Linked DNA regions of Homo sapiens: regions 1, 2, 3, 4, 5 and 7 are each linked to region 6. Evidence: promoter capture Hi-C in human tissues and cell types (Jung and others, 2019). All regions are on one chromosome and are shown on one strand. The core of a region is centred on a gene start or on the middle of the fragment in contact, and the rest is flanking DNA. Distances in the headings are between cores, read along the strand shown. Region 1 overlaps EFTUD2 (elongation factor Tu GTP binding domain containing 2). Region 2 has its middle 8.0 kb from the start of FZD2. Region 3 has its middle 22 kb from the start of GPATCH8. Region 4 overlaps GPATCH8 (G-patch domain containing 8). Region 5 overlaps EFTUD2 (elongation factor Tu GTP binding domain containing 2). Region 6 holds the start of DBF4B (DBF4B-CDC7 kinase regulatory subunit). Region 7 has its middle 14 kb from the start of FZD2.

Region 1 (2,700 bases), core at 78-2,577, 170 kb after region 6:
TATAAGCCACTGTGCCTGGCCTCTTGTTTAGAGGTTTGAAACATGACCTCTTGACTTCCTATTTTAGTAAATCAGGTTAAGTTCAGCTCTATCCCACTTCCTACTTTTTTTTTTTTTTTTTGAGATGGAGTCTTGCTCTGTTGCCCAGGCTGGAGTGCCGTGGTGCAATCTCAGCTCACTGCAAGCTCCGTCTCCCGGGTTCACGCCATTCTCCTGCCTCAGCCTCCTCAGTAGCTGGGATTACAGGCGCCCGCCACCAAGCCCGGCTAATTTTTTTTGTATTTTTTAGTAGAGATGGGGTTTCACCGTGTTAGCCAGGATGGTCTCGATCTCCTGACCTCATGATCCGCCCGCCTCGGCCTCCCAAAGTGCTGAGATTACAGGCGTGAGCCACCGTGCCCGGCCTCTTTTTTTTTTTTTTTTTTTTTTAAGAGACAGGATCTCACTCTGTCACCCACATTGGAGTACAACAGCACAATCATAGCTCACTATAACCCTGAACTCCTTGGCTCAAGTGATCCTCTTGCCTCTGCCTCCCGAGTAGCTAAGACTACAAACACATGCCAGCACGCCAAGCTAATTTCAAAATTATTTTTTGTAGACACAGAGTCTAGCTATGTTGCCCAGGCTGGCCTTGAACTCCTAGCCCCAAGGGATCCTCCTGCCTTGACCTCTCAAAGTGCTGGGATTACAGGCATAAGCTATCACGCTTGGCCTTCTTATTAAAATATATTTGTCATTTCATCCTTTGGACTCATGATGTCACACTGGGCTCTAGTCATTCTCAGTCCTTGCAGAGATGGGGTGAAGATATTCCTTTTGAAAAGTAGTGCTACACACTGGGAAGGCTCCTGAAGGTATCTGTCTCTAGCCACACAGGTTCCATCCCCAATCCTTAAATGGAGAGGCATTCTTTCAGTTGGAGAGGCATTCTTTCAGTAGGACGGCCTCCTCACAGGCCCATTTGAGGGGCTGCAGGAAGTCATCTAGCACATCTTTCAGCCTGTAGTAAGACTGTCTTTAAGATATATTTAACCTCTGTTTCAAAGGCCCTTTGATATTATATTCTAAGGTATCATAACCATCACTCATATGTATCAATGCAAGCCCTAAATCCATCTTGTTGAGAAGCAGGTATATCCACAGAAACACAGCAAACAGTTCTTAATTTATTTAGACTGTGTTAATTATAAGATAATAGCAGCTAACATTATTCAGCACATCAGCTGCTACATTGCAAGCACTGTGCTGTGTTCCATCAAATATCTATTTAATTTCTTATAACATCCCTTGTAAGTTATGTTAACTTATACTATAAATGCCTAATAATATTTGCTACTATTGCTGTTAGGCAAATATTATTCCTTTTTTACTGAAGCAGAAACTGAACTTAAGTAATCTGCCCAACTTTACATGGTTGGTATGTGGTGAAGAGGAGGCTGATTCTAGAGCCCAGGCTGGGTGCAGCGGCTCAAATCTGTAATGCTAGCACTTTGGAAGGCCAAGGTGGAAGAATTGCTTGAGGCCAGTTTAAGACCAGCCTGGGCAACATAGCAAGACTCCATCTCTACAAAAAAAATATAAATAAATAAAAAATAAAAATTAAAATTAAAAAAAATTGGCCGGGGGTGGTGGTTCACGCCTGTAATCCCAGCACTTTGGGAGGCCGAGGTGGGCGGATCACGAGCTCAGAAGGTCAAGACCAACCTGGCTAACACAGTGAAACCCTGTCTCTACTAAAAATACAAAAAATTAGCCGGGCGTGGTGACGGGTGCCTGTAGTCCCGGCTACTTGAGAGGCTGAGGCAGGAGAATGGCATGAACCCGGGAGGCGGAGCTTGCAGTGAGCCGAGATCATGCCACTGCACTCCAGCCTGGGCGACAGAGCGAGACTCCGTCTCAAAAAAAAATAAATTAATTAATTTAAAAAATATATAGCCAGGTATGGTGGCACATGCCTGTGGTCCCAGCTATCAGGAGACTGAGGTGGGAGGATTGCTTGAGCCCAGAAGTTCGAGGCTGCAGTGAGCTGTGATTGTGACACTGCACTCTAGCTTGGGTAACAGAGATCCTATCTCTAAAAAGAGAAGAAATTAATACAGCCCAAGTACTGATCATAATAGTAAAATGAAGATGTGTTAAAGTATGAAGTCAACCCCTGCAGAGTCCCAGGATGTGCCTCTAGTTTTGCCCAACAAACTCATCAACACACGCTTAGAAATAAATCACAGTTGTTCCCAGAGGTATTCAGGGTTAAAACCCAGAGCCTCCGAGGACAGGAAATCCACTCCCAGGGGTTTTCTACCTTATTAATCCATTGACCTCATCCACAATGTGGCGCAGCTTGTAATAAGCATCAGTTGGAGGCAGCTTCAGCTCCAGGATCAGCCGGTCAATCTTGTTGATGCACACAGTGACTGCCAGCCTCTCCTGCACCGCATGCTTGATCAGCCGCTCTGTGTTCAGCATCACCTGAGAAAAACAAGGCTCAGAAGGTGGTAAGAAGAACAAGGAGGGCAGAAAGTTCAAAGCAGAACCAAAGAAGGCACTATTTCAAACCATGAAGCCTGGGGAGAAAAAAAGACCTCGGGAAATATTACTGGGTGGAAGCAGAGAGCATCCTGCCCGAAGATAGACACAGGAACTTTAAGAGGGCACCTTGCAGGATTGAGAAATGAATAAACCCATGAACAATGATGT
Region 2 (2,831 bases), core at 55-2,554, 140 kb before region 6:
TTGTAGCACTTTTCCAATTACTTAGAATACATTTATTTATTTATTTATTTTGAGACGGAGTCTGGCTCTGTCGCCCAGGCTGGAGTGCGGTGGCGCGATCTCGGCTCACTGCAAGCTCCGCCTCCCGGGTTCACGCCATTCTCCTGCCTCAGCCTCTGGAGTAGCTGGGACTACAGGCGCCCGCCACCACGCCTGGCTAGTTTTTTTTGTTTTGTTTTGTATTTTTAGTAGAGATGTGGTTTCCCCGGGTTAGCCAGGATGGTCTCGATCTCCTGACCTCGTGATCCGCCCGCCTTGGCCTCCCAAAGTGCTGGGATTACAGGTGTGAGCCACCGCGCCTGGCCCCCACTTAGAATACATTTCCAAAAATAAAATCAGTGGATCAAAAGATCTAATTTCTTGACAAGAGAAGTGTTACCAATAGTTTTTAAACTGTTCCCTATCATTTAAAAGGACCACAGTCTTCCCTTCCCAGCACTTCCCTATCATTTCCTCCGTGTGAAGAGGTACATCTAACTGCCCTTAGAATATGGACGATGACTGGTCTTAGCTGCTTCATGCTGATAGGGGGCATTGTTTTGGGGAAAACAGCAGTCAGACTCCTCCTAGAGGTCTATCTAAGGGTTCCTAGGAAAGGGGAGCCATCATCCGAGGCTCCGATTGCCTGACCGTTTGCAGTTTGGTGGCTTCTAGGCGCAAGAGAATAAAACAAGTTTTATAAGGTTAAGTGTGCATAAATTAAACGTGTATTATACAAGGAAAGAATTTAGTGCCAAAGATTCCAGAGACAAGAAGTAAAATATACTAACAACATTGTACCCTGAGCTGTAAGAAATTAAACCTTATATAGGAGCAGTTCAACTTGAGAAGAGATAACTGTTCTTGCCATATCTTTTAGCAGTTAACAGGTGCACCCTGGGAATTCTGGGATTTGTGGACTTGCACGATGGCCATTAAAGCTTTTGCCTCTTTCCTGTATCTCCTCTCTCTTTCCTGGGCCTCCCAGTCTCTATTATAAAAGACCAAGGTGGCTACTTTCAGGAGTTTCTTCAAAGTACTATCTGGTCCCGGGGCCTGTTTTTGTATCTTCCTTCTGATGTCAGGAGCTGCCCAAGTAATAAATTGATCCTTTAGAATTAGTTGTCCCTCTACTGAATCAGGAGATAGAGAGAGGTGCTTTACCAAGCTCCCTCTTAGCCTCTCCAGGAAGGCAGTGGGATTTTCATCAAATCCCTGGTCAATCATGGACAATTTAGTATAATTGAGGGGCTTGGTCCTAGTTCAATGGTATTGAAATGAATGGTCCCTTCCTGAGGCCACGCCAGTCCTTCCTATAAATCATAATTTGGCCAAACCTTTGTGCAGAGGGCTATGAGGTGCTTTTCCTTCAGATGCTGAGGGTCAAAGCAATCCCAATGGTTCAGAATACATTATACTCCAGAAGAGTATAAGCTGGGGGTGGTGAAGAGAACTGGTTGCCCATTCTGAAAGACAGGGAAAAAAGGCGTCCCCTACTCCCTTCCTTCTTTCAGCGAATACTCAGAGTGTGATGGAGAGAGAAAGCGAGTATCCTCCCTGCACCCTCCACCTCTTGTCCCTGAGCCCTGGTGACCTTGTCAGGTGCCAGCCATGGGTACCAATGCGGTATGTACCCATGAAGCAGGGAAAACCTGGAGAATAGGAATTAACTGCTCTCATCTACACCTCCCTTTCTCCCTCCCTTTCTTCCTGCTGTCAGCAAACTGAGTTCCCTGGGCCTGTTTGTGCCATGGAACATGGCCTCCTTCTATGTGGTGGGGGGTTCACTCGTCAGGAATTGGTTCTGCCCATTTACATTGTGCCTGTTGCCTGGCTTTGGATCCCTCGGACCTGGTTTTTCTCTCTAGGGCCTCAGCCTGAAGCCTGGAATCGAATTTGGGATTGAAAAGTTGGTTTAGAGGCTGTTTGTATCTGTTCAGAGTGTCTCAGATGTGCCCTGCTGAATTTGCAGTTCTCAGCCAGCAGGGGTCGCTCCTCCGTTAACTTCCCTATCAGAAACTACTGGGATGGGGGAGCCCTCTCACTTAGAAAAGGAAAAAAAGAAAAACAGTTAAAAGGCCAAAAAGAGGAGGATTCTGGGAGAAGAACCCCTTGCTTACTGCAAGTGGGCCCCCCTAATCCTTATATCTTTCCTCTAGTTCAGACCGTGTTGAATTCTTTGGCCAGGGGAGGAAAGGTTTTATTGGCGCAGCCGGCAAGAAGCGCCCATCCGTTTGCCCTGTTTGGCTACCACCACGGCTTTCTCCCGCCCACTCTTGGCTGTTGGGCTTGGCCTTTGCCTGCTGCGGGCACGCATGGGCGCCTGAGCTGGGAGGGGAAAGGGTGAAGAAAGGTGCCCTGAGCCATGCCTGTGGCTGTCAAGGTAAAGGTGTACATGGCACCTCTAGGAAAAGTTGGTCTGATTGGCACATTTCAAACCGTGTGAGAGCGGCTGGGTGCGCTGGCTCACGCCTATGATCCCAGCACTTTGGGAGGCCGAGGCGGGCGGATCACAAGGTCAGGGGTTGGAGACCAGCCTGACCAACATGGTGAAACCCAGTCTCTACTAACAATACAAAAATTAGCCGGGCGTGGTGGCGCTTGCCTGTAATCCCAGCTACTCAGGAGGCTGAGGCAGGAGAATCGTTTGAACCTGGGAAGCGGAGGTTGCAGTGAGCCAAGATCGCACCACCGCACTCCAGCCTGGGTGATAGAATGAGACTCCGTCTCAAAAAAAAAAAAAAAAAAACAAACAAAGAAAAGAAAAAGAAAAATGAGGCCCAGAGGCCAGAGAGACACTGCCTGAAGCTCAC
Region 3 (2,739 bases), core at 131-2,630, 180 kb before region 6:
ATGATAGGCTAAGTTATTCAGACCAACCTTCCCATTGAAAACAAATGCAAAAGCTGGATAAAGGCTTTTTAAAAAAAAAATCCTCCTCTCCCTCTCCCTCTCCCTCTCCCCACGGTCTCCCTCTCCCTCTCTTTCCACAGTCTCCCTCTCCCTCTCTTTCCACGGTCTCCCTCTGATGCCGAGCTGAAGCTGGACGGTGCTGCTGCCATCTCGGCTCACTGCAACCTCCCTGCCTGATTCTCCTGCCTCAGCCTGCCCAGTGCCTGCGATTGCAGGCGCGCGACGCCACGCCTGACTGGTTTTCGTATTTTTTTGGTGGAGACGGGGTTTCGCTGTGTTGGCCGGGCTGGTCTCCAGCTCCTAACCGCGAGTGATCCGCCAGCCTCGGCCTCCCGAGGTGCCGGGATTGCAGACGGAGTCTCGTTCACTCAGTGCTCAATGGTGCCCAGGCTGGAGTGCAGTGGCGTGATCTTGGCTCGCTACAACCTCCACCTCCCAGCAGCCTGCCTTGGCCTCCCAAAGTGCCGAGATTGCAGCCTCTGCCTGGCCGCCACCCCGTCTGGGAAGTGAGGAGCGTCTCCGCCTGGCCGCCCATCATCTGGGATGTGAGGAGCCCCTCTGCCTGGCTGCCCAGTCTGGAGAGTGAGGAGCGTCTCTGCCCGGCCGCCATCCCATCTAGGAAGTGAGGAGCGCCTCTTCCCGGCCGCCATCACATCTGGGAAGTGAGGAGCATCTCTGCCCGGCCACCCATGGTCTGAGAAGTGAGGAGACCCTCTGCCTGGCAACCGCCCCGTCTGAGAAGTGAGGAGTCCCTCCACCCGGCAGCCGCCCCGTCTGAGAAGTGAGGAGCCCCTCCGCCCAGCAGCCACCCCGTCTGGGAAGTGAGGAGCGTCTCTGCCCAGCAGCCACCTCGTCCGGGAGGGAGGTGGGGGGATCAGCCCCCCGCCCAGCCAGCCGCCCCGTCCGGGAAGTGAGGGGCGCCTCTGCCCGGCCGCCCCTACTGGGAAGTGAGGAGCCCCTCTGCCCGGCCAGCCGCTCCGTCCGGGAGGGAGGTGGGGGGGTCAGCCCCCCGCCCGGCCAGCCGCCCCGTCCGGGAGGTGAGGGGCGCCTCTGCCCGGCCGCCCCTACTGGGAAGTGAGGAGCCCCTCTGCCCGGCCAGCCGCCCCGTCCGGGAGGGAGGTGGGGGGGTCAGCCCCCTGCCCGGCCAGCCGCCCCGTCCGGGAGGGAGGTGGGGGGGTCAGCCCCCCGCCCGGCCAGCCGCCCCGTCTGGGACATGAGGGGCGCCTCTGCCCGGCCGCCCCTACTGGGAAGTGAGGAGTCCCTCTGCCCGGCCACCACCCCGTCCGGGAGGTGTACCCAACAGCTCATTGAGAACGGGCCATGATGACAATGGCAGTTTTGTGGAATAGAAAGGGGAAAGGTGGGGAAAAGACTGAGAAATCGGGTGGTTGCTGTGTCTGTGTAGAAAGAGGTAGACATGGGAGACTTTTCATTTTGTTCTGTACTAAGAAAAATTCTTCTGCCTTGGGATCCTGTTGATCTGTGACCTTACCCCCAACCCTGTGCTCTCTGAAACATGTGCTGTATCCACTCAGGGTTGAATGGATTAAGGGCGGTGCAAGATGTGCTTTGTTAAACAGATGCTTGAAGGCAGCATGCTCCTTAAGAGTCATCACCACTCCCTAATCTCAAGTACCCAGGGACACAAACACTGTGGAAGGCCGCAGGGTCCTCTGCCTAGGAAAACCAGAGACCTTTGTTCACTTGTTTTTCTGCTGACGTTCCCTCCACTATTGTCCTGTGACCCTGCCAAATCCCCCTCTGCGAGAAACACCCAAGAATGATCAATTAAAAAAAAAAAATCCTTAGCAATATTACAGATATTTGACAAGAGAGATGAATTTCCAGGCCAAAACTTAAAGGAAAGTGGGATCCCAGAGAGGCATTGGAAGACAGAGCAGAAGAAATTACCCAGAATGCAGAAAAGGGACAAAAAGAAGAGTTTGAGACACATGGAGGATACAATGAAAGAATCTAATATCGTTTAATCAGAATTCTAGAAGGAAAAAAAAAAAAAGAAGCCAGGCATGGTGGTGCATGCATACCTTTCATCCCACTATGTGAGTATTGCTTGAGCCAGGATTTTGAACCCAGCCTGGGCAAAACAGCAAGACCCCATTTTATTTTATTTAAAATACTTTTTTTTTAAAGGAAAGAACAAGAGAATGTGGCAAGGTGAAGATTTGAAAAGATAATGGCTGAGAATTTCCCAATTCTGATGGAGCATCAATCCACAAGTTCTGGAAGCGTGAAGAATTCTAAGCAGGATAAATAAAATAGAATCTACATGCAGATACATCACAATGAAATGTCAGAATTCTGAATACAGAAAGAAAAAAAATTTTATTTTGAGAGAAAGTCTCACTCCATCACCCAGGTTGGAGTGCAGTGGCGTGATCTCAGCTCATGATCTCAGCTCACTGCAACCTCTGCCTTCAGGTTCAAGAGATTCTCCTGCCTCAGCATCCCGAGTAGCTGGGATTACAGGTGCCCACCACCACATCCAGCTAATTTTTGTATTTTTAGTAGTCACGGGGTTTCACTGTGTTGGCCAGGCTGGTCTTGACTCCTGACCTCGAGTGATCTACCCACCATGGCCTCCCAAAGTGCTAGGTGGCATGAGCCACTGCGCCTGGCCTGAATATAGAAAGAAAATCTTAAGAGCAGCCTTCTCAACAA
Region 4 (3,040 bases), core at 280-2,779, 240 kb before region 6:
TAGCCCATTTTCAACAGTGACAAAATAGTAAGTCTCTTGAGTGGATTGTAAGCTTTGCTGATTGTGTATTAAAGACTATAAGCAAGAACCAATGCTACTAGGTGAACCCATGCAAACAAGTTGTAAAAATTCCCGAAACAAAAAAACTCTATAGCTCACTACAGATGACACAATGAAGACTAGAGAGAAAAGCCATATAGTAATGCTACACCATTCAGCTCCAAGAAGCACATTATTTCTAGTGCAGTCCACATATGGTCACTGCTAAATGTCAAATCAGCAGTCTTATAAAGAATTACAGTTTGGAACTAGTGGAGTCCACAGATCTAGACAGATATGCAACATCACAAAACCCAATTATACATATACTTCCAAATCCTTAAGATGCGCAAACTAAACATCAGCAACTGGAGTTTGAAGCTTACACTACATTTTTAAACCTATTAGGTCATCCTGACAACCATAAAGAAAGAATTTTAATCAGTCAGGTAGAGCAAGGACCGACTAGCGGCTGATGGGTAGTTGCACTTCCAACCACAACAGTAACAACATGTTTTAAGTCTATGATGCATGCATTCTGCCTTCTATATAGCTTAAAGTCATTCTCCCATCTGATCCCTCATCTTTTTTTGTTTGTTTGTTTTTGGAGATCGAGTCTCGCTCTGTCACCCAGGCTGGAGTGCAGTGGCACGATCTTGGGTTCAAGCGATTCTCCTGCCTCAGCCTCCTGAGTAGCTGGGACTACAGGCGTGTGCCACCACACCCGGCTAAGTTTTGTATTTTTAGTAGACATGGGGTTTCACCGTGTTAGCCAGAATGGTCTATCTCCTGACCCTGTGATCCACCCACCTCGGCCTCCCAAAGTGCTGGGATTATAGGTGTGAGCCACTGCACCCAGCGCTTTTTTTTTTTTTTTTTTTTGAGACGGAGTCTCGCTCTGTCACCCAGGCTGGAGTACAGTGGCGTGATCTCGACTCACTGCAACCTCTGCCTCCCAGGTTCAAGCAATCCTCCTGCCTCAGCCTCCTGAGTAGCTGGGTAATCCCAGCACATGCACAGGCATGTGCCACCACGTCTGGCTACTTTTTGTATTTTTAGTAGAGACAGGGTTTCACCATGTTGGTCAGGCTGTTCTCGAACTCCTGACCTCGTCATCTGCCCGCCTCAGCATCCCAAAGTGCTGGGATTACAGGCGTGAGCCCCTGCGCCCAATTCCTCATCTTCTAACTATGATAAAGGTCATAAAGGACCGTGTATCCTAAAAAACACCAATTAATTCTTCTGTGATTGAATCCTAGACGGAGCTATGGCTTTAGATCAAGCTTTGTTTTGTAAATATTTTGTCTTTAAGTAAGTGGAGGTTATAATTATAACATTTGAGACCTAAATATCTCATAAAGCAATAACAATTTTTAAAATTCAAATTCAAAGCTTCTCGTAATAGGGATAAAATGTTCACACTTTTCAACTTGTTTTTAATAGAGATAATCAAGTTGTTTAGCAATTCTCATATAATTTTCTTAAAAAGATATTTCATTCTTGAGGAAAAATCTCATTGAAAGATATCTGGTTGGTTGAAGCAAATAAGGGAAAATTAAACTTCAAAAAATATTATTAAATGCTTTACAAATACTGGATTTTGATATATTTTCAACATTTACCTAATAAAATTGAAATACCAATATCTCACTAACAAATCTAAGCTTCGGAAGTTCACTAAAAGCATAATACATTATTGCATCTTCATGTCTCATTTCCCATCTTGCTGGTTTGCATCAAATTTAGCCTACTACAAAATAAAAAGACCTTAATCCTATACTCACAATAACCCTTCACACAGGCATATTCTTGGCACAAACCTGTGCAGAGACCTCCACGGTTACCAGCTGCTGCAGATTACCTTTGGTTAAAAAAAAATGACTAGACCTTTAGCTCCTGCAATGATCTGTAGACTCCCAAAGCTGCATATTTTCAGCCACTTTTGAGTTGCATGCTGTAGCAAAACAGTCAGCACCTCTCAATAGATATTGCTGCAGAGAAAGATTTTAATTCAGCACTCTTTCTGTGTTAGAAGTAACACCATTTTCCCCTAAAAACAAAACAGCTTAATATAGCCAGCCAGCCATGTAATTAAATATTTACTTATTATTTAGTGGGCATTCCTCAGGTGATAAGGGACTTCTTTTGTTTGGTGGGAGGGAGGGAACACTACCTACTTTGATGCCAATCACTGTAGGAGTTTCTCTTAAAACTTAAAATTTTCTGTGACCAAAAAAAGTAAAAAAAAAAAAAAAAAGTTGAAAAAAGAGAAAAACACTTAAAATTTTACTCACAAATGATCAGGCAACAGAAATAAGATCCCTCTTATCTTGTGTGTCAATACTTCTTTTTTTTTTTCTTATTTTTTCTTGCATCTTTGTTTATTCTCCCAGATCCTGTGCCCTACTTCTACCTAATACAATGTAGGCCATGAAGTTCTCTCCTACAACCTAAACTATCTCATCACAAATAATGCATATATTTATCTTTCAGAAGTAAATTTTCATTAGAAGTGTAATTACTAATATACATTTCTGAACATTCATTTATTTAAAAAAATTAAATATCCAGCCTGAGTACTATATACTATTTGCTATTTTAAGTGAAGAAGGTAGCACTACTTAATAAATAAGGCATATTATCAATTCTACTCCCACTGAATGAGATTATTCAACAATGATTACTCAATTAGACTGCCTTCTGATACTGTTCTCGCTATATGTGGCAGAAAAAGTCCTGGACATTATGAGAGGTAAAATAGCATTAGCCTCATGTGCCATAGGAATGAAATTTCCAAAAATATTTCAGTGTAGCCCTCTAGGCTTAAAATATGTTAAATATCATTTAATTTAGTGGTTTAAAAAATATTTGTTAAGTATCGTAATAATGAATACTAGGTTGCAAATTTCATCTAAATTTACTGCTACTGTTGAGTATCCACAGAATTATAGCTTGTGTAAGACAATTAACCAACCATGCACCTTGTAGAATGTGGTACTGG
Region 5 (3,033 bases), core at 349-2,848, 190 kb after region 6:
AATCCCAGCTACTCAGGAGGCTGATATAGGAGAATCCCTTGAACCCAGGGGGTGGAGGTTGCAGTGAGGCGAGATGGCACCACTGCACTCCAGCCTGGGAGACAGAACAAGACTCCATCTCAAAAAAAAAAAAAAAAAAAAAGTTTCACTGGAAAACAGCCATGCATATTCATTTGCATCATTTACAGTTGCCTTCACACTGTAATAGCAGAGTTGAATAGTTGAGACTGAAACCATATGGCTCACAAAGCCTAAAATATTATCCAGTCCTTAATAGAAAAAGTTTGCCAACCTCTCCCTCACCATGTGTAATTCCTACAAACAAGAACATTCTCCTACATAACCACAATACAACCATCAAAATCAGAAAATTGATATTCACACATTACTACCACCTTCTTTACAGATCCCATTCAAGTTTCACAGATTGTTCCAATAATACCTTACACACCTAAGGATCCAATCCAGGATCATGTTTGCATTTGGTTGTCATGTCTCTAGTCTCTTTGGATCTACAATCTTCAGTCTTTGGATCTACAATCTTCAGTCTTTCCTTCCAAGGACTGTCATGAAATCCTTAAGGATGTCCCTTGATTTGAGGTTGTCTGATGTTACCTTATGATAATATTCAGGTTATGCGTTTTGGGCAGGAATATCATAGAAGTGATGCTGTGTTCTTCTCAATGCATTTCGTATCAGGTGATACATGATTTCAATTTGCCCCATTAGTGGTAACGTTAACTTTGATCACTTCATTAAGGTGATGTTTGCCAGGCCTCTCCATTGTAAAGTTACTCATTTTCCCTTTGTAATTAAGTAGTGTTTTGTGGGTTTTCTCCACTTCAATTACTGAAATTCTATTCAAAGAAACAGTTCAAATGCCACCACCTCCTTCAAGCTTTCCTAGCTCCTCAATTTCTCATTCCTCTATCCTACTAGAGCTTTTTGCACCTTTATCAGTATTTAATTTTGTCTTAAATAGTAGTTAACTGGCTGGGCACAGTGGCTCATGCCTGTAATCCCAGCACTTTGGCAGGCCAAGATGGGCGGATCATGAGGTCAGGAGATAGAGACCATCCTGGCTAACACAGTGAAACCCCGTCTCTACTAAAAATACAAAAAATTAGCCAGGTGTGGTGGCACACACCTGTAGTCCCAGCTACTCAGCAGGCTGAGGCAGGAGAATCACTTGAATCCAGGAGGCAGAGGTTGCAGTGAGCTGAGATCGCACCACTGCACTTCAGCCTGGCTGACAGAGTGAGACTCCGTCTCGAAAAAAATAAACAAAATAAATAAACAAATAGTAGTTACTAATTACCATCACCAACTATAGTTTATAAGCAATAAATAACAGACTAGAGCATCAGGGCTCTGGAGTTGGAAGACTTAGATTCAAATCCCAACTTTGTCACCAACAACTATGTAACTTGAGGTAAGTTACTTCATCTCTTCCAACCTGATTCCTATTCTTCAACTGGAAAATGGAATGAATAATCCTCACTGAATAAATGGTTATGAGGATTAAATAAAACACCCTGTGTAAAGAATTTACCAGAGTCCAGCTGGGTGCAGTGGCTCACGCCTGTAATCCCAGCACTTTGGGAGGCTGAGGTGGGTGGATCACGAGGTCAGGAGATCGAGACCATCCTGGCTAACACGGTGAAACCCTGTCTCTACTAAAAATACAAAAAATTAGCCAAGTGTGGTGGTGGGCGCCCGTAGTCCCAGCTACTGGGGAGGCTGAGGCAGGAGAATGGTGTGAACCCAGGAGGCGGAGCTTGCAGTGAGCGGAGACAGCGCCACTGCACTCCAGCCTGGGTGACAGAGAGAGACTCCGTCTCAAAAAAAAAAAAAAAAAAAAAGAATTTACCAGAGTCCTAGGCTCAATAAACGTTAGCTAGCATTATTTTTTGCCATCCTTGATCATGAGAACCCTGTGTTCCATGCACCTGCTTCTTCTCTTCACTTCTTTTATGATACTAAATTTAATTTTAAAATAATACCAAAAAGTGGCAAGAACAGTACAAATAACTTTCTTTTCCCCAAATATTTGACAGTATGCTGCTGACACAATGCCTCTTCACCTCCTAATACTTTAGAGCAAGAGTTGACAAACTCTGACCTGTGGCCAAATCTGGCCCCTCCAACTGTTTTTGCATGGTCCTCCAGCTAAGAATGCATTTTACATTTTTATTTTTTTATTTTTTTGAGACGGAGTCCCGCTCTGTTGCCTAGGCTGGAGTGCAGTGGCACGATCTCGACTCACTGCAACCTCCGCCTCACAGGTTCAAGCGATTCTCCTGCCTCAACCTCCCAAGTAGCTGGGATTACAGGCACCCGCCATCACACTTGGCTAATTTTTGTATTTTTAGTAGAGACGGGGTTTCAACCATGTTGGCCAGGCAGTCTCGAACTCTTGACCTCAGGTGATTAGCCCACCTCGGCCTCCCAAAGTGCTGAGATTACAGGTGTGAGCCACCGCACCCGGCCACATTTTACATTTTTAAATAATTGAGAAAAAAGTACCAATGCTAACACAGCCAATAGCCAAGACAGCACCTTGCATAAGTAGGAACTGGATAAATGTTAACTGAATGGGATGTTTAATTTTAAGATGCTGATATTTCTTGGATTAGACTGATACCTCCAACTCCCTCAATGCCACCTGCTGGGTGCTGAATGTAGAGAGAGAATTGGAGCTCCAAGGACCAATAATTAAATGTAAATTATTATGGAAACTTTCACATGCATATTCTTTTTACTTCTAAAAAGCTACTATCGCATTTATGCTTATCTCATTCTCCCAAGACCCCAGTCAAGGGATTGAAGAAATTATTTATTTATTTTATATATATTTTTTGAGACAGAGTTTTGCTCTTGTTGCCCAGGCTGGAGTACAACGGCACGATCTCAGTTCACTGCAACCTCCGCCTCCTGGTTTCAAGCGATTCTCCTGCCTCAGCCTCCCGAGTAGTTGGGACTACAGGAGTGCACCACTACGCCTGGCTAATTTTTTTGTATTCTTAGTAGAGA
Region 6 (2,956 bases), core at 174-2,673:
GCTGAGGCAGGAGAATGGCCTGAACCCGGGAGGCAAAGGTTGCAGTGAGCCAAGATTGCGCCACTGCACTCCAGCCTGGGCGACAGAGCGAGACTCCCTCTCAATAAAAAAATAAATAAATATAAAAACTATCACTCTGGTTGCTGAATGGAGAATGGATTATACTGGGGAGAGATAGGAAGCTACTCGGGAGTAGAAGTGAAGAATTGACCGCAGTACTTTAGGCAAGAAATGATAGCAGCTTGAACTAGGGTGGTGGTGGTCTGATTCCAGATGTACTTTGGAGGCAGAGTTAGTAGGATTTTTTTCTTGGAGTGGGGATGGGCACAAGGGAAAGTACTGAAAGACAACTTCTAGGTTTTTGGTTTGAGCAACTGGGTGAATGATTGTGACATTTGAGTAAACAGTAACATTTTACTGAGAGGGGAAGACCTGGGGGGAGAACAGGTGGTTTTTTGACAGGGGCAGCGAAACAAATGTTCTGTTTTGAATGTGTTCAGCCTGAGGTGCCTATTAGACATCCAAATTGAAATAGCCAGTAGGCACTTGAATATGTGAGTCTGGAGATCAGACAGGTCAGAGCTACAGAAAATCTGAAGGTGTGGCAGAGCTGAATTGTAAAGCTGTGGAGCTGGATGAGATCTCCTAGGGAGATAAGGGAGAGGGATAAGGGCTAAAGCGTTGGCATACTCCAAAATATATAGGTGAACAGTGGCTTTGGATCCAGCAAAGGGGACTGAGGAGGAACCATTGAGATAGGGAAAAAAACGGTAGAGTGCTGAGTCATGGAAGCAAAAAGAAGAAAGTATTTCAAAGAAGGAATAGTCCATCTATAAGTTGGATATGATAAGGATAGTATTTCAGACTGTGGAAATCACAGTTGACCTGGATAAGTACAGTTTTTGTGGGGAGGTCCCCAGCTCTCCACTGAATGATCTCTTATTAGATCAAATTTGATCTCTAATTAGCAGTCTAATTAGATGGGTTGAAGAAAAGATGGGAAGTGAGGGATAAAGATACGTCTTTTGAGAAGTTTTGTTGGGCAGGTAATAATTGAAGAACGGGAGGGGGACAAAAATGTGAAGATGAAATGATGTGTAAGTGAAATCTTTATGTAAACTGCAAATGCTCTGCAAGTGTTAGGCTTATTTTGTTATTTAGTATTCAAACTTCTAGGAATTTCAATGCAGCTCAGTGTGAAGAATCACTAAAAAGCGACCACTAGTCCTCAACTTGAGGGCCATTAAGGGGCAAAGCCGTCTAGCCAGTGAAGAGCCAAGAAATGAAGAGACGGTTTGAGAAGACGTAGGCGGTGGGGGAACGGAAAGAGGAATCGCGAAACTAATATTGTCCTTCCAAGGACACCGTAGGGCGGATCTCGCAGCTACGGCGTTCTTTTAGGGGTGGAGCCGGCAGGAAATTTAAACTGAAGCCGCGGCCGAAAACGCCAAGAGATTGATGCTGTAGCTGCCCTGAGATAACCAGGACTGTGGAATCGGGAAGAGCTCATGGAGCTCGCGAATGTAATACGGAGGCCTCTGAGGAAGGAGTACGGAGGCCGAGAAGGAGCCGGCATTTGATGAGCGAACCGGGAAAGGGTACGGATGCCGGGAAGGGGAGAAAGAAAGGCGGAAGGGGTCGTTAATAGCTGAGGCGAGGTGCGGAGTCGTGGAGGGGGCTTAGGAAGTGACCAGCGGGTAGGTGCCGAAGCTGAGGAGGGTATAGGGGCCGGGAAGGAGCCACAGGAGTTGAGGGGACCGAGGAATGAAGGTGGCAGAGGAACGTAGGGGACAACAGCCTGGAGGGATGTATGGAGATTGAGATGGACAGGAGGTGGCCAAGAGGTCACGGCCGTTGACTGAACGGAGTCTGAAAGGAGGCGGAGGGCATGAGGGGCAAGAGCCTGGCGGGAGTCGCGGGATGTAGGTCGGAATGGAGTTGAGTCTTGCTGTTCCCAGGAGTCGCGTTTCTGTGCGCGTTTTGGGAGACAGTAGTGGGCGGGAGGCATGGAAGTTCCAAGGGTTGGTGAAGATGGTTGAGTTGCTGTTATGTCCTTTCTCAGGAGACGATTGCCTCGAGCTGGAGAGTTCCATGGCTGAGAGTAGGCTCCGGGCCCCGGACCTAGGTGGGTAACAGGACAGAACTAGGGACGTGAGGTGAAAATTGCCCCAGGGTCTCTTGGAGAAGACCGAAAAATGTTCCCCCTGTTGGAGTTTTCGATCACTCAGTGTTTTTATGTACTTATTTATTCATTTTATTTATTGGGATGGGGTCTTGCTGTGTTGGCCAAGCTGGTCTCAAACTCCTGGCCTCAAGCAGTTCTCCTGCCTAGGCCTCCCAAAATGCTGGGATTACAGGTGTGAGCCACTTCACCAGGCCCACTTAGTGGTTTTATGTGTGTGTGTGTATGGACGCAGCATCATAGACCGTTTTGGGATTCATGATAAAGGTCAAGTAAGAGTCATATTATGAACAAGATTAACAGACAGATGTGGAGTCAGGATAGAGTGACTTATTAAATATATAAATTAATACATTCATAGTTGTTTACAATAAAATCCTTAAGTTAAACACTGCTACCTAATTAGGTAAGTATTTTAGCACATGGCACTTCCCTCCGTACTGCCCCTTTAGTTAATATCATCTAGTTGGCCGGGCGCGGCTGCTCACGCCTGTAATCCCAGCACTTTGGGAGGCCAAGGCGGGCGGATCACGAGGTCAGGAGATTGAGACCATCCTGGCTAACACAGTGAAACCCCATCTCTACTAAAAATACAAAAAATTAGGCGGGCGTGGTGAGGCGTGCCTGTAGTCCCAGCTACTCAGGAGGCTGAGGCAGGAAAATTGATTGAACCCAGGAGGCGGAGGTTGCAGCGAGCCGAGATTGCGCCACTGCACTCCAACCTGGGCGACCGAGCGAGACTCCGTCTCAAAAAAAAGAAAAAAAAAATACCGT
Region 7 (2,846 bases), core at 65-2,564, 170 kb before region 6:
ATCCCTGTGTGTCGCTCCGGCTGGATCCCCATCCTCCCAGCCCCTCGGCCAAGTGGAGGATGCTGATCTGACTGCCTCCTGCCAGACACCTAGGGCCTCCTGCTCCCAGAGGGTCTTGGCCAAGGGGCTCTGGCGCTGGGCCGGTGCCTTTCTCACTGCCCGGCTCCCTCCTCACAGGCCCCTAATCCATCTCACCCAGCAGGAAGCCCTTAAGCTGCCTTTTCAGCCGCCTTCCCCAGCCCGCTGTGGGCTCTGTGCCTTTCTATACCACCCTTGGCAGGAGCTGTGTTATACAAGCTGGAGAGAGAGGCCCCTGCAAAGAGGTCATCGTGCCTAAGGCGGCTTCCAGCTCCAGCAGCCTCTCCTCCCTGGTCCCCTCCCCAGGGTTCCCCCACTGGTACACTGCCTGGCATCCCTGGGCACTGACAGCCCTGGCTGACTCACATCAAAGCCCCAGACTGGGTCCAGGTGAGAGGAGGGATGCTAGGGGGACAGTGGGCAGAAGGCCAGGGTCTGGGGAAGTGTGGCAGGCATGAGGGGCTCCTCTGGCTCTGTGCCATCTGTCCTTTTGGCTGGTGTCTCCATCTTCCCTCTGCTTCCAACCCCTGCCCTCAACTCCCCAAAGCCCATTCACAGGTTTCTTAGACTCAGTTATGCAGCCCAGACAGGGCTGGGAGAGCGTGTGCCCTGGAGGCCACCTCAACTGAATGTTTCAGACAGGAAGAGAGAGAGGCCAAGGGGGTGGGGGTGGGGGCAGGGGCGCCAACAGTTTCTTTCTGTCTTCCTAGGTTGTATTTGGATTTGGGCAATTGCTTGTCACTCTTGGGGCACAGACCTCATAGCTTGGATCATTCTGGGGCAGGCTTAATTTCACACCCCCAATTTCATAGCCCCTGCAAGTATACTCTCGCTGGTTCTGATGATTTTTGGTTTGGAAAATGGTTCTTTTTTTTTTTAGATGGAGTCTCGCTCTGTCGCCCAGGCTGGAGTGCAGTGGCATGATCTCGGCTCACTGCAACTTCTGCCTCCTGGGTTCAAGTGATTCTTGTGCCTCAGCCTCCCAAACAGCTGGAACTACAGGCACCTGTCACCACACCTGGCTAATTTTGTATTTTCAGTAGAGACGGGGTTTCACCATGTTGGCCAGGCTGGTCTCAAACTCCTAGCCTCAAGTGATCTGCTCACCTTGGCCTCCCAAAGTGCTGAGCCACCGTGCCCTGCCTGGAAAATGGTTCTTGTATGACCTGGTCCTTATCTTGACCTCAACCTTTCCCTCCCCTCTCTCTCCAGGAAAAAATATCCCCCCACCGCCCCTACCTAGGCCCCTTCTCCAAGGCCCAAACCCCAGTCCTGCCTCCACTCCAGGAAGCCAGCCTTTTGCTGGCTAGAAGTGGTTAGAGAAGAGTTGGGGGTGCCTCTGGGAGGTCTGTTTGTAGTTCAGATTCTTCTCATTCCAGGCTCAGCAGGCTCTCTCTAAGGGAAGGGCCTGGGATGGGGGGCGGGGATCCTTGGGGCACCAGCTGCAGGGAAGGAAAGCTTCCCGGGGAGAGGAGGGAAGTGTTTTTCTTCCCTTCCTAGTGACCCCCATCCACAAGGTAGGAACTGCCTCTCCTGGTTCCATCATTGGAGTCCCCCCCACAAGCTGCCCCAGCATTCAGGCTCCTCCCAAGGGGCCTGACAGGAGCTATGGAGAGCTGCGGCCCTGATCTCTTTCTTCACTTCTGAATGAGTCCATTTCTACCCTTTTGGGACCCTTAGAGATGTTTGGAAGAGTTTGGAGGAGGGGCACTAAGGTATGCACAACCAGATGCTTGCAGAGTGACTGGGTCAGCCCCAGCTTCAAAGAGGCTATATCAGTCTATCCCCAAAACTGAAGTCCCTTGTAGATTTTTTCTTTCTTTAACCAGTATTCACATATTTGTCCCTCTAGACTACCAACCCTTAGGCCTCGAGATTCCTCAAGGATTAATCAGTGATCCAGTCACGGGAGAAAGCAACCAACCCCCAGGGTCTTAGAAGTCTGACACCTGCCCCAACTCCCCAGCAAACTTCCTTCTCCAGCTGCCTCTGCCTGAGAGCAGGAAAAACCAACACTAAAGGCTTATATTGAGCATCCACTATGTGAAGTCACTTACCACTTCATCTTATCTTCCCCACCCTTCAAGAGAAGATTAGTGTCCCTATCTTATCGATGAAGAGTCAGAGCTTCAGAAAGGGAGAGTGACCTATCTCAGGGAATGCAGTGAGGAAGCAGAGCTGAATCCATTGAGTCCAAGTCCAGGACAGTGGTCTGCCTAGCATGCTGCCTCGTGACTAGGTCTGCCCTAGGTGCCTGTGTCCAGGCTCCCAGGCTGACCTCTGGCTAATATTCTGCTTCTGGGTTACAAAGCAGCATGTACCATCTGAGCTTCCTTTCCCAAAGCAACTGTCCCTACAAATCCAGTTTCTCTTTCAGTCCTCACTTCACAGGGAACAGGACAGACTTATTGTGCCCATTCTTCAGATGGAGAAACTGATACTCAGAGAAAAGATTCACTGAAGGTCAGAAAAGTATTAAGCACCAAGACCAGGACACGAGCATTCAGGTGTCCTACGTCCACTTCATGGGTTCTCACGATGATGTCAGATTTATTTGTCACTTCACCCCTTCTCAGATTGGAGATCAGAATAGATTTGTTTTTGTTTGTTTTGTTTTGAGACAGGATCTTGCTCTGGCACCCAGGCTGGAGTGCAGTGCTGCAATCACAGCTCGCTGCAGCTTCGACCTCCTGGGCTCAAGAGGTCCTCCTGCCTCAGCCTTCCCAGTAGCTGGGATTATGGGTGTACATTACCATGCTCAGCTAATT

The links. Contacts are between HindIII fragments. The study calls those that stand out against the background at their distance.
Region 1: a contact is called between a fragment that was not itself captured here and the fragment with the promoter of DBF4B in region 6, in 1 of the 25 tissues and cell types used here (mesenchymal stem cells).
Region 2: a fragment that was not itself captured here is called in contact with the fragment with the promoter of DBF4B in region 6 in 3 of the 25 tissues and cell types used here (H1 embryonic stem cells, IMR-90 fibroblasts and aorta).
Region 3: a contact is called between a fragment that was not itself captured here and the fragment with the promoter of DBF4B in region 6, in 1 of the 25 tissues and cell types used here (H1 embryonic stem cells).
Region 4: a fragment that was not itself captured here is called in contact with the fragment with the promoter of DBF4B in region 6 in 3 of the 25 tissues and cell types used here (dorsolateral prefrontal cortex, mesenchymal stem cells and mesendoderm cells).
Region 5: a fragment that was not itself captured here is called in contact with the fragment with the promoter of DBF4B in region 6 in 1 of the 25 tissues and cell types used here (mesenchymal stem cells).
Region 7: a fragment that was not itself captured here is called in contact with the fragment with the promoter of DBF4B in region 6 in 5 of the 25 tissues and cell types used here (H1 embryonic stem cells, IMR-90 fibroblasts, lymphoblastoid cells and 2 more).

The regions. Positions count from the first base shown.
Region 1 is chr17:44,873,629-44,876,328 of GRCh38, forward strand. EFTUD2 (elongation factor Tu GTP binding domain containing 2) reads right to left here. Exons shown (of 28, transcript NM_004247.4): 10 at 2,306-2,472. Among named protein-coding and RNA genes, the nearest start is that of EFTUD2, 24 kb to the right of the region's middle. The HindIII fragment of the contact is 8,659 bases long and covers 1-2,700 here.
Region 2 is chr17:44,564,049-44,566,879 of GRCh38, forward strand. No RefSeq gene overlaps it. Among named protein-coding and RNA genes, the nearest start is that of FZD2, 8.0 kb to the left of the region's middle. The HindIII fragment of the contact is 3,399 bases long and covers 1-2,831 here.
Region 3 is chr17:44,523,893-44,526,631 of GRCh38, forward strand. No RefSeq gene overlaps it. Among named protein-coding and RNA genes, the nearest start is that of GPATCH8, 22 kb to the left of the region's middle. The HindIII fragment of the contact is 9,334 bases long and covers 1-2,739 here.
Region 4 is chr17:44,469,594-44,472,633 of GRCh38, forward strand. The region is part of intron 2 of GPATCH8 (G-patch domain containing 8); the gene reads right to left. Among named protein-coding and RNA genes, the nearest start is that of GPATCH8, 32 kb to the right of the region's middle. The HindIII fragment of the contact is 3,729 bases long and covers 1-3,040 here.
Region 5 is chr17:44,895,375-44,898,407 of GRCh38, forward strand. The region is part of intron 1 of EFTUD2 (elongation factor Tu GTP binding domain containing 2); the gene reads right to left. Among named protein-coding and RNA genes, the nearest start is that of EFTUD2, 2.6 kb to the right of the region's middle. The HindIII fragment of the contact is 4,028 bases long and covers 1-3,033 here.
Region 6 is chr17:44,707,242-44,710,197 of GRCh38, forward strand. It overlaps DBF4B (DBF4B-CDC7 kinase regulatory subunit), which reads left to right and starts at 1,424. Exons shown (of 14, transcript NM_145663.3): 1 at 1,424-1,598; 2 at 2,063-2,125. The coding sequence starts at 1,580. RefSeq lists enhancers at 1,230-1,744, 1,745-2,258. The HindIII fragment of the contact is 13,873 bases long and covers 1-2,956 here.
Region 7 is chr17:44,541,834-44,544,679 of GRCh38, forward strand. No RefSeq gene overlaps it. Among named protein-coding and RNA genes, the nearest start is that of FZD2, 14 kb to the right of the region's middle. The HindIII fragment of the contact is 8,168 bases long and covers 1-2,846 here.